3 separate regions of the Homo sapiens genome follow, and regions 1 and 2 are each linked to region 3. The links are contacts of gene promoters, found by promoter capture Hi-C in human tissues and cell types (Jung and others, 2019). All regions are on one chromosome and are shown on one strand. The core of a region is centred on a gene start or on the middle of the fragment in contact, and the rest is flanking DNA. Distances in the headings are between cores, read along the strand shown.

The links. The method cuts DNA at HindIII sites, captures the fragments that hold promoters and counts their contacts. A contact is called where the count stands out against the background at its distance.
Region 1: a fragment that was not itself captured here is called in contact with the fragment with the promoter of SPRED2 in region 3 in 3 of the 25 tissues and cell types used here (IMR-90 fibroblasts, adrenal gland and lymphoblastoid cells).
Region 2: a fragment that was not itself captured here is called in contact with the fragment with the promoter of SPRED2 in region 3 in 1 of the 25 tissues and cell types used here (mesenchymal stem cells).

The regions. Positions count from the first base shown.
Region 1 is chr2:65,302,829-65,305,900 of GRCh38, forward strand. No RefSeq gene overlaps it. Among named protein-coding and RNA genes, the nearest start is that of ACTR2, 77 kb to the left of the region's middle. The HindIII fragment of the contact is 6,401 bases long and covers 1-3,072 here.
Region 2 is chr2:65,238,994-65,241,714 of GRCh38, forward strand. It overlaps ACTR2 (actin related protein 2), which reads left to right. Exons shown (of 9, transcript NM_005722.4): 2 at 859-969. Among named protein-coding and RNA genes, the nearest start is that of ACTR2, 13 kb to the left of the region's middle. The HindIII fragment of the contact is 3,672 bases long and covers 1-2,721 here.
Region 3 is chr2:65,431,169-65,433,906 of GRCh38, forward strand. It overlaps SPRED2 (sprouty related EVH1 domain containing 2), which reads right to left and starts at 1,431. Exons shown (of 6, transcript NM_181784.3): 1 at 794-1,431. The coding sequence starts at 819. RefSeq lists silencers at 1-283, 314-363, 1,134-1,333. The HindIII fragment of the contact is 4,754 bases long and covers 1-2,738 here.

The sequences.
Region 1 (3,072 bases), core at 144-2,643, 130 kb before region 3:
CAGAATTGACTACAAAACAGCCTGTTAACCAAGAGAGGAAGAGGCCACACACTTTGTTCTCAGGATCTCTGTACACTCTTAAAAATTACTAAGGAGGCCGGGCACAGTGGCTCACGCCTATAATCCCAGTACTTTGGGAGGCCAAGGTGGGAGAGTTGCTTGAGCCCAGGAGTTTGAGGTTAGTGTGCTACGATTGCACCACTACACTCCAGTTGGGGAGACAGAGGGAGACCTTGCTTCAAAAAAAGAGAAAGAAATAACTACATTTGCCAAATAAAAAATATTTTAGAGAACAGAAATACTGGCTTATATTTTGAAAACCTTTAATTAATAGAAGACAGCTGGATTCTCATATCTGCTTCTGAGTTCAATCTGTTGTAATGTGTTGTTTTGATTGAAGTATATGAAGAAAACCTGACCTTAGACAGATATGTTGTTGGAAAAGGGAAGAGAGTTTAATAGTCTTTTGAGAGATCCTTGTAGGTAGTCTTCTTTGATACTCTGCCAAAACTCATAGGTAATAATTTCTTAAAGGTTAGTCGTGGGAGGTTGGGTGCAGTGGCTCATGCCTGTAATCCCAGCACTTTGGGAGGCCGAGGCAAGCAGATAACCTAGGGTCGGAAGTTCAAGACCAGCCTGGCCAACATGGCAAAACCCCTTGTCTACTAAAAATACAAAAATTAGCTGGGTGTGGTGGCAGGTGCCTGTAATCCCAGCTACTCGGGAGTCTGAGGCATGAGAATAGCTTGAATCCAGAAGGTGGAAGCTGCAGTGAGCTGAGATCGCACCACTGCACTCCAGCCTGGGTGACAAGAGCGAAACTCCGTCTCCAGGAAAAAGAAAGGTTAGTTGTGGAATCTAAAACCACATCACTTGGTTACATCAAAATTCATTATGGGGGCTGGGCGCAGTGGCTCACGCCTATAATCCCAGCACTTTGGGAGGCCAAGGCAGGAGGATCACTTCAGGTCAGGAGTTCGAGACCAGCCTGGGCAACATGGGGGAAACTCTGTTTCTACTAAAAACACAAAGATTAGCCAGGCATGGTGGTGTGTGCCTATAGTCCCAGCTACTTGGGATGCTCAGGCACGAGAGTCGCTTGAACCCGGGAGTCAGAGGCTGCAGTGACCCAAGATCACACCACTGCATTCCACAGCCTGGGCGGCAGAGTGACACTATCTCAAAAAAACAAAACAAAGCAAAACAAAACAAAACAAACAAAAAATACTAAAACAAAAACCCAACGTTCATTATGGGCCTTTCACTCTGAATGGATCTTTTACCCATGCGTGATTTTTTAACAGCAATACATTGGTCATTTGGAAGATATTGACTCTATTGCAGATCTGAAAGTTGACACATATCATTTTCATTATACAATATATATTTTAAAATCACATATCCTTTGCTCTTGTCTCCTAGGCTGGAGTGCAATGGCACGATCTTGGCTCACTGTAACCTCCGCTTCCTGGGTTCAAGCGATTCTCCTGCCTCAGCCTCCCGAGTAGCTGGGATTACAGGCACCCGCCACCACACCTGACTAACTTTTGTACTTTTAGTAGAGACGGGGTTTTGCCATGTTGGCCAGGCTGGTCTCGAACTCCTGACTTCGTGATCCGCCCACCTTGGCCTCCCAAAGTGCTGGGATTATAGGTGTGAGGCACTGTGCCTGGCCAAAATTGCATTTCTTAATATCACCACCAATTTCATGGAAAAAAAAAAAAGTCTATTGGGAAATTGTCAAGCCAACAGTAGCAGATACATATTTCACAAAATTCCAATTTTTGCTTGAAAGCTCAGATTTTGTCACTGACAACAAAACTGTCTGTTGTCTCTTTGAAGTAATAGGCTCATTTTGCTCATTTTTTTTGAGAAAGTGTATGCCAAATACCCCTTCCTGAATAACCATACAACATAACCATAATGACAGTCTGTCACTCTTTCAAGTAAAAGTGGTGTCCCATGACAAAAGCAGCTACTTCAGCTTGCAACTCAAAACAGTTGCACAAAAGCTTTACTTCAAGACAACAATACTTAACTGTGCAACAGAAGTGCTTTACATATATATTCCATTTTGTCACACAAAATATTAAGAAGATGTGAACTCAAGGGTCAATATGTATTAAAAGTAATCATATTTATTGCTTCATCAAGTACATTCTTTTTTTTTTTTTGAGACAGAGTTTTGCTCTTGTTGCCCAGGCTGGAGTGCAGTGGCGCAATCTCAGCTCACTGCAACCTCCACCTCCCAGGTTCAAGCAATTCTCCTGCCTCAGCCTCCGGAGTAGCTGGGATTACAGGTGTGCACCACCATGCCCAGCTAATTTTGTATTTTTAGTAGAGATGGGGTTTCTCCACGTTGGTCAGGCTGGTCTCGAACTCCCAACCTCAGGCGATTCGCCCGCCTCGGCCTCCCAAAGTGTGGGGATTACAGGTGTGAGCCACTGCCCCAGGCCTGCTTCATCGAGTACATTCTTAAGTGAAACTGGCATTTTTTTCTAAGAACATGCAATGATTAGACTAGCACAATTTGGTAGTCCGCTTTGACTAGCGCTAAGTTTTACCCTTCATTGTTTCTGCACCATCAATGTAAATGTCAACACAGTGGAAAAATCAAACACCGTCTTATTAAGATGATTTTAACCTCAGGGATTCTCAGGTGTCTCTCTGCAGACCACTCTTTGAAAAAGAGTACTATAGCAAAAAAAAAAAAAAAAAAAAAAAAGAAAAAAAAAGGAAAAAAATCATTTTAAAGAGGACAAAGTTAAGAGTGTAATTTAATAAAAGGGCAAGATGCAAATGATGAGCAAATACAATAGATATGGAAGACTGGAGAGTCAATCTATGAATTACGTAACCCAAAGGAAGAAACTTGAACTGTAAGGAGCAGGAGCAATCATTGAAGGCCAGGCATGGTGGCTCACGTCTGTAATCCCAGCACTTTGAGAGGCCAAGGTAGGAGGATCGCTTGAGCCGAGGAGTTTGAGACCAGCCTGGGCAACATAGTGCAACCCTGTCTCTACAAAAATAATTTTTAAAAACATTAAAAAAAGAAGAAGTCATCAAAGACAT
Region 2 (2,721 bases), core at 118-2,617, 190 kb before region 3:
TAATAAATGTTTCTTTTCATAATACGGTGATATTAGTTTAAATGACACTTGGTTTTCCCATTTTGGAAAATGACATTCTCTAAGCGATTTGCCCAAAATGAATGAAAGTCTGCTTTAGAATTGAAGCTTTAGTTCTGTTCATTTTCTCACATTTCTCTTTCTAAAAATACTTAGCATTTTGCCGGGCATGGTGGCTCACGCCTGTAATCCCAGCACTTTGGGACGCTGAGGCAGGCGGATCACCTGAGGTCGGGAGTTTGAGACCAGCCTGACCAACATGGAGAAACCCCGTCTCTACTAAAAATACAAAATTAGCTGGGCTTAGTGGCGCATGCCTGTAATCCCAGCTACTTGGGAGGCTGAGGCAGGAGAATCACTTGAACCCAGGAGGCGGAGGTTGCAGTGAGCCGAGATTGTGCCATTGCACTTCTGCCTGGGCAAAAAGAGTGAAACTCCGTCTCAAAACAAAAACAAAAAAAACCTTAGCATTTGTTCAGCGAATTTGTCCATCCCACAGATACTTCTGGAGTGAGCACTGTGTGCCAGGAGCTCTGTTAGGTATTGGATTCCAGCACGAACTGCTCAGCTTAGCTCCCTGCTCTTATGAGGCTTTTGGTCTAGTGAGGGAACTTAGGCACTAATTTAGCAGTAAATAAACATGAACCCTGGAAGTAGGCAATGCCGTGAAAGAAGTTAAAAGGAGATGTTGCGATAGATTGAGTGGCTACTTCGGGTGGACTGAAAGCACCAAAAGTTTAAAATGTTATATAAATGCAAAGTGATATTTTTCAGATGCTGTCTTAAAATATAGTAAATATCCTGATGCTAACCCACTTTTATTTTACTGTTTCATTCCAGTTTGTGAAGTGTGGATATGCAGGCTCTAACTTTCCAGAACACATCTTCCCAGCTTTGGTTGGAAGACCTATTATCAGATCAACCACCAAAGTGGGAAACATTGAAATCAAGGTAATATTTTATTTATTGATAAATGATAATCAAGACATGTGAGGTGTTCTTATAAAAGTAGTTTAACAGTTCTTTTAAGTAGTTTTAAAATATGTTGCCATGAAAAGCAAAGGGGAGGGTAGAAGTTCTCATATTTTTAATTTATATCAACACCTGAACAGGGGCACAAAAATTGAAGTTAATTTCATCTGATTTTGTTTATGTATGGCTTGATGCCATTACTCTTTGGAGTAAAATACTTAAGTTTATTACATTAATGTGAAACGCTGTGTTAGTGACTTAAGTCCTATTACATAATATAATTTTTAAAAGAAATCGGCCTGGTATTTTTATGTCTTTCAATTCCATATATTTGTCATTGTATGTGAGTGTCTCTTTGGCACCTTAGACTTTTTCTTTTCATGTTTTTATGGCCTGATCCCTCTACTTTTTTATATAGCCATTTAGGAAAACACAGGGTGTAAATCTCATTGATTCCTCTTTTCATTAATATAACTTATTTCCATAATGTGCAGAAGGAAGCCATTCAAGCCTTTATTTGGCCTTGGATTATGTATCTTACCATAAAGAGGAAGGAAAGTTTTCATTGCCTACTCGCTGTATTTAAGATGAAAGACTACATGAAAAGACGATCGATTTTTCTCCCATATTAAAGGGATCAGAAATCAAGTAGGAGTTACAATATTTGACAAGAAAGAGAACAGTGAGAGGACAGTAGTCACCAGTTGGCTTTAAGTTCTTCAGGTGACTGAAGGATCAAGTTATACAGAATGCCATAGAATTTAGGGTCTTTTTTAGTGAATTATTTGTGAACACGCTAGCATTGTTTGTCCTATCTGGATAGTCTTTAGCAAGCCTTCAGTGTAAGGTTATGAGTCATTTGAAATATGCATTAGGGCGTATCTCTTTGGGACATTTGTTTTATGTAGGAAGGTGGTAATGGGTGGTAGAGATTTGCTATGTAGCCTTCTGCTTTTGGGATAGAGAGTTGAGTTACACAATGAATAAAAATACAAGCTGAAACTTGGGTTCTGTGTTAGTTTTTTTTTTTCAGAGTTAAAGTAGCGAATTTTTCTGGCCTCTCCTGTTAACAAAAAAAATAAAATGGGACACTCAGTGTAAGTTTTTCCTTTTTAAGGAGCTTTTGGAATATTTGTGGGATTCCTTACTTGCTTATTGTGAACTCCTTTCATTCTGAATGAATTCTATCTTAAATGAACTTTGACTGGAAATTAGCTAATAATAGTGATAAGGATAAACTGTTTAATGAAGTTGAAGGCTATACTTTTTATTCAGTGTCAGGTTTTTAAAGAATGGCTTTTTTATATACTGGACAATAAAATTTTTGAGGTATGAAGAAATATCATGTATAGCCATAAATTTATTTTGCAACATAGGCACAAATAACTACACATCTCTTCATGCCCACTTTCTTCGTGTTTAAGGCCAAGTGATAGAAATCAAATTTGTCAGTATGCTAATAAAACATTTTTGCCAAGGAATTCCCTAGCAGCATTTGCTTGTATGGTTTGTCATTCTGTATTCTATTGGCTCAATTCTGTTCACTCTGTGCAATCTTGTAAGCCTATCAAGTTAAATTATTCTTCGAGTAGAAAACAGCAAAAGATACCTGTGTCAAATAAATTTAACTTGAACACTAGAGCTTGGAAAAACAACCCTGAGCTATCTAACACTCTGCCTACTCAGCTAGACCTTTGCTGTTATCATTTATTTTTCTTAATTAAAGTTCTT
Region 3 (2,738 bases), core at 181-2,680:
CGGGCCAGGCACAAGCCCGTGCACGCGCACCCGCGAGGACACTCACATACACACACACACACGCGCGCCCCCAGCGCGATGCCCCGCACGCCCCCGCCGCACACGCCTCGGTCCGCCCCGAGCCGCCCGACCCCGCAGGACGCGTGTGCCGGCCACAAGCGCGTGCACAGGCACTCACGCGCCGCGGGGCCCCTCGGGCGGCTCCAGCACGCCGGCCCGCGCGGGGACCCTGGCGCACCAGACCCCCGCGCAGCCCGCGCCTGTCCTCCTCTCGCTCCGCCGTGTTTTTTATGAATGAAAATGTGGTATGCAAATGAGAGCGATTCAAGAAAACGAAATGGCGGAGCCTAGGCCCCAGTGGGCTCCGGAGCGGACTGCAGGGCTCGCGGGGCGGCGGGAGTCACAAAGTCACTGTGCAAAAACCCACCAGCCCCGGGAAGCCGGAGTGGGGGTGTCAGGTCTTCCGCTCTAGCCGCCGAGGATTTCGGGGGCGGGGGAGCTGTAAGTCCTCCGAGAGGGAGCGGAGACCGCCGGGAGGTCACCCGCACGCCCTTGGCCCCCGGAGCTGCCACCAGCCCGCCGACCCTAGGCGTGCGCCCGCCAGCCCGCAGCAGTTTTTGCCCTCTCCTCACTTCAACAAGCAGGGAAGCCTCGCGTCCCAACGCCGAAAGGTCAGCGAGTCGCTGCACCCCACGCCAAGTTCACCCAATAAGCGTCCCCGCCCGCATCCTCAGCCCCGGCCCCCACGCTGCCCCTGAGGGGCACCCTCGTCCCACCCCGCGACCAAACTTACTCGTCTGGGTGTGTTTCTTCGGTCATTTTCTTGTTCACCTAGACGCCTGTCCCGCGGCGGGCAGCTTTGCTCCCTTCATCTTCCTGTCCGCTCGCCCCCCTTCTTCACATCTCCGGAGATCGCCTGATTTGGGGAGGGGGGGCGGCTAGAGATGAAGAGGGCGCCGCAGCAGAAGGGGAAGCAGGGCGCGGGATAGGGTTTGGGGGAAGGGGTGCAAAGGCAGGCTGCGCGGGGAGTGAACGCCGCAGCGCCGTGGGGAGAGGCGGGCGGAGGCTCCGGGGGCTCGGGAGCGGGCAGAGGGGGCGAGATTTGGGAAGGGGACGGCGGTGGGGGAGAGCAGGAGAAAAACAAGCGCGCCTCGGAGCGGCAGGGACTGCTGCGAGGAGGAGGAGAGCGCCGGCCGCGGGTGGGGGGGCTCAGTCCGGGGTCGCCCCCGGGGGGCCGGGCCAATCACGGTTCCGGGGAGCGGTCGGCGGCCGGGGGAGGTGCGCCTGGGAGGCGGTGCAGGGCGCCCCGTCCGAGCCCCATCTCTCGACTCCACCGATTTACTCCATATTGGATTCTCACCGCCGCCAACAGGAGGAGGAAGTAGGGCGGAAGCGATGACGTCTTCCCAGCGGCCAGAGGTGGTGGAGTGCAAAAAGCTTCCTACTTGCGACCGAAAAAAAGGGAGAAGAAAAAAAAAAAAACTTTGTCCCGCCTACTGAGCACGCCCCGCTTCCTCTCCCCCTCCCTCCTGGCTTCCACTCCCGGGGGAGCCGCGGAGCCGAGTTGTTTGCTTGCGCCGCGACCGTCTGGCTCCGAATCCTCCTTGATTAGGGCTCCGGGTTTTAGGAAGCCCGAGAGGAGGGAGGAGGCGGGAGCGGAGGACTCGTACACATCTGGCTCCCGTTTTTGCCCCCTCCCTCCTTCCAAACACCAAGATTAAAAATCGGGGGGTTGGGCGGGGGCAGAGATGGGAAACTCAAGGGAGGGGAGGGAGTAAAACAGCTGAAGAGGTGCTCAGGCTCAGAGGCACAACTACCCCCACCGCGGGGTGGGAAGGTAGGGGCGGCGCAGGTGCCAGGGGCTGGCTTCTCCAGCCCAACCCAACCAGAGAGGGGAGGGGGTTCGACTTTGCCAAGGTTCTGAAAGGCAGAGGCTTTTCCGTTTCACGTGAATCTTGTGATTTTTTTTCTTTTTTGTCTCAATAGAGGAATGGATTTTTGTTTTGTTTTGTTTTGAGATGGAGTCTCGCTCTGTCCTCAGGCTGGAGTGCAGTGGCGCGATCTAGGCTCACTGCAACCTCCACCTCCTGGGTTCAAGTGATTCTCCTGCCTCAGCCTCCCGAGTAGCTGCGACTACAGGCGCGCGCCACCACGCCCAGCTAATTTTTGTATTTTTAGTAGGGAGGGGGTTTCATCATGTTGGCCAGGATGGTCTCGATTTCTTGACCTCGTGATCCGCCTGCCTCGGCATCCCAAAGTGCTGGGATTATAGGCATGGGCCACCGCACCCGGCCAAGGAACGGATGTTTTTAAGAATCATTACTCATGCAAAGAAAAAGGTCAACCCAGCACAGCCCAGAAACGTTTGCATTTCCGTAGAAATTATGGAATTTCTCGCGTTAAGAAGCAGCCCCGGCCGGGCGCGGTGGCACACGCCTGTAATCCCAGCACTTTGGAAGGCCGAGGCGGGCAGATCACCTGAGGTCGGGAGTTCGAGACCAGCCTGACCAACATGGTGAAACATCGTCTGTACTAAAAATACAGAATTAGCCGGGCGTGGTGGCGCGTGCCTGTAATCCCAGCTACTCGGGAGCTGAGGCAGGAGAATCGCTTGACCCCAGGAGGTGAAGGTGGCGGTGAGCCAAGATTGTGCCACTGCACCCCAGCCTGGGCAACAAGAGCAAAACTCCATCTCAAAAAAAAAAAAAAAGAAGAAGAAAGAAAGAAAGAAAAAGAAA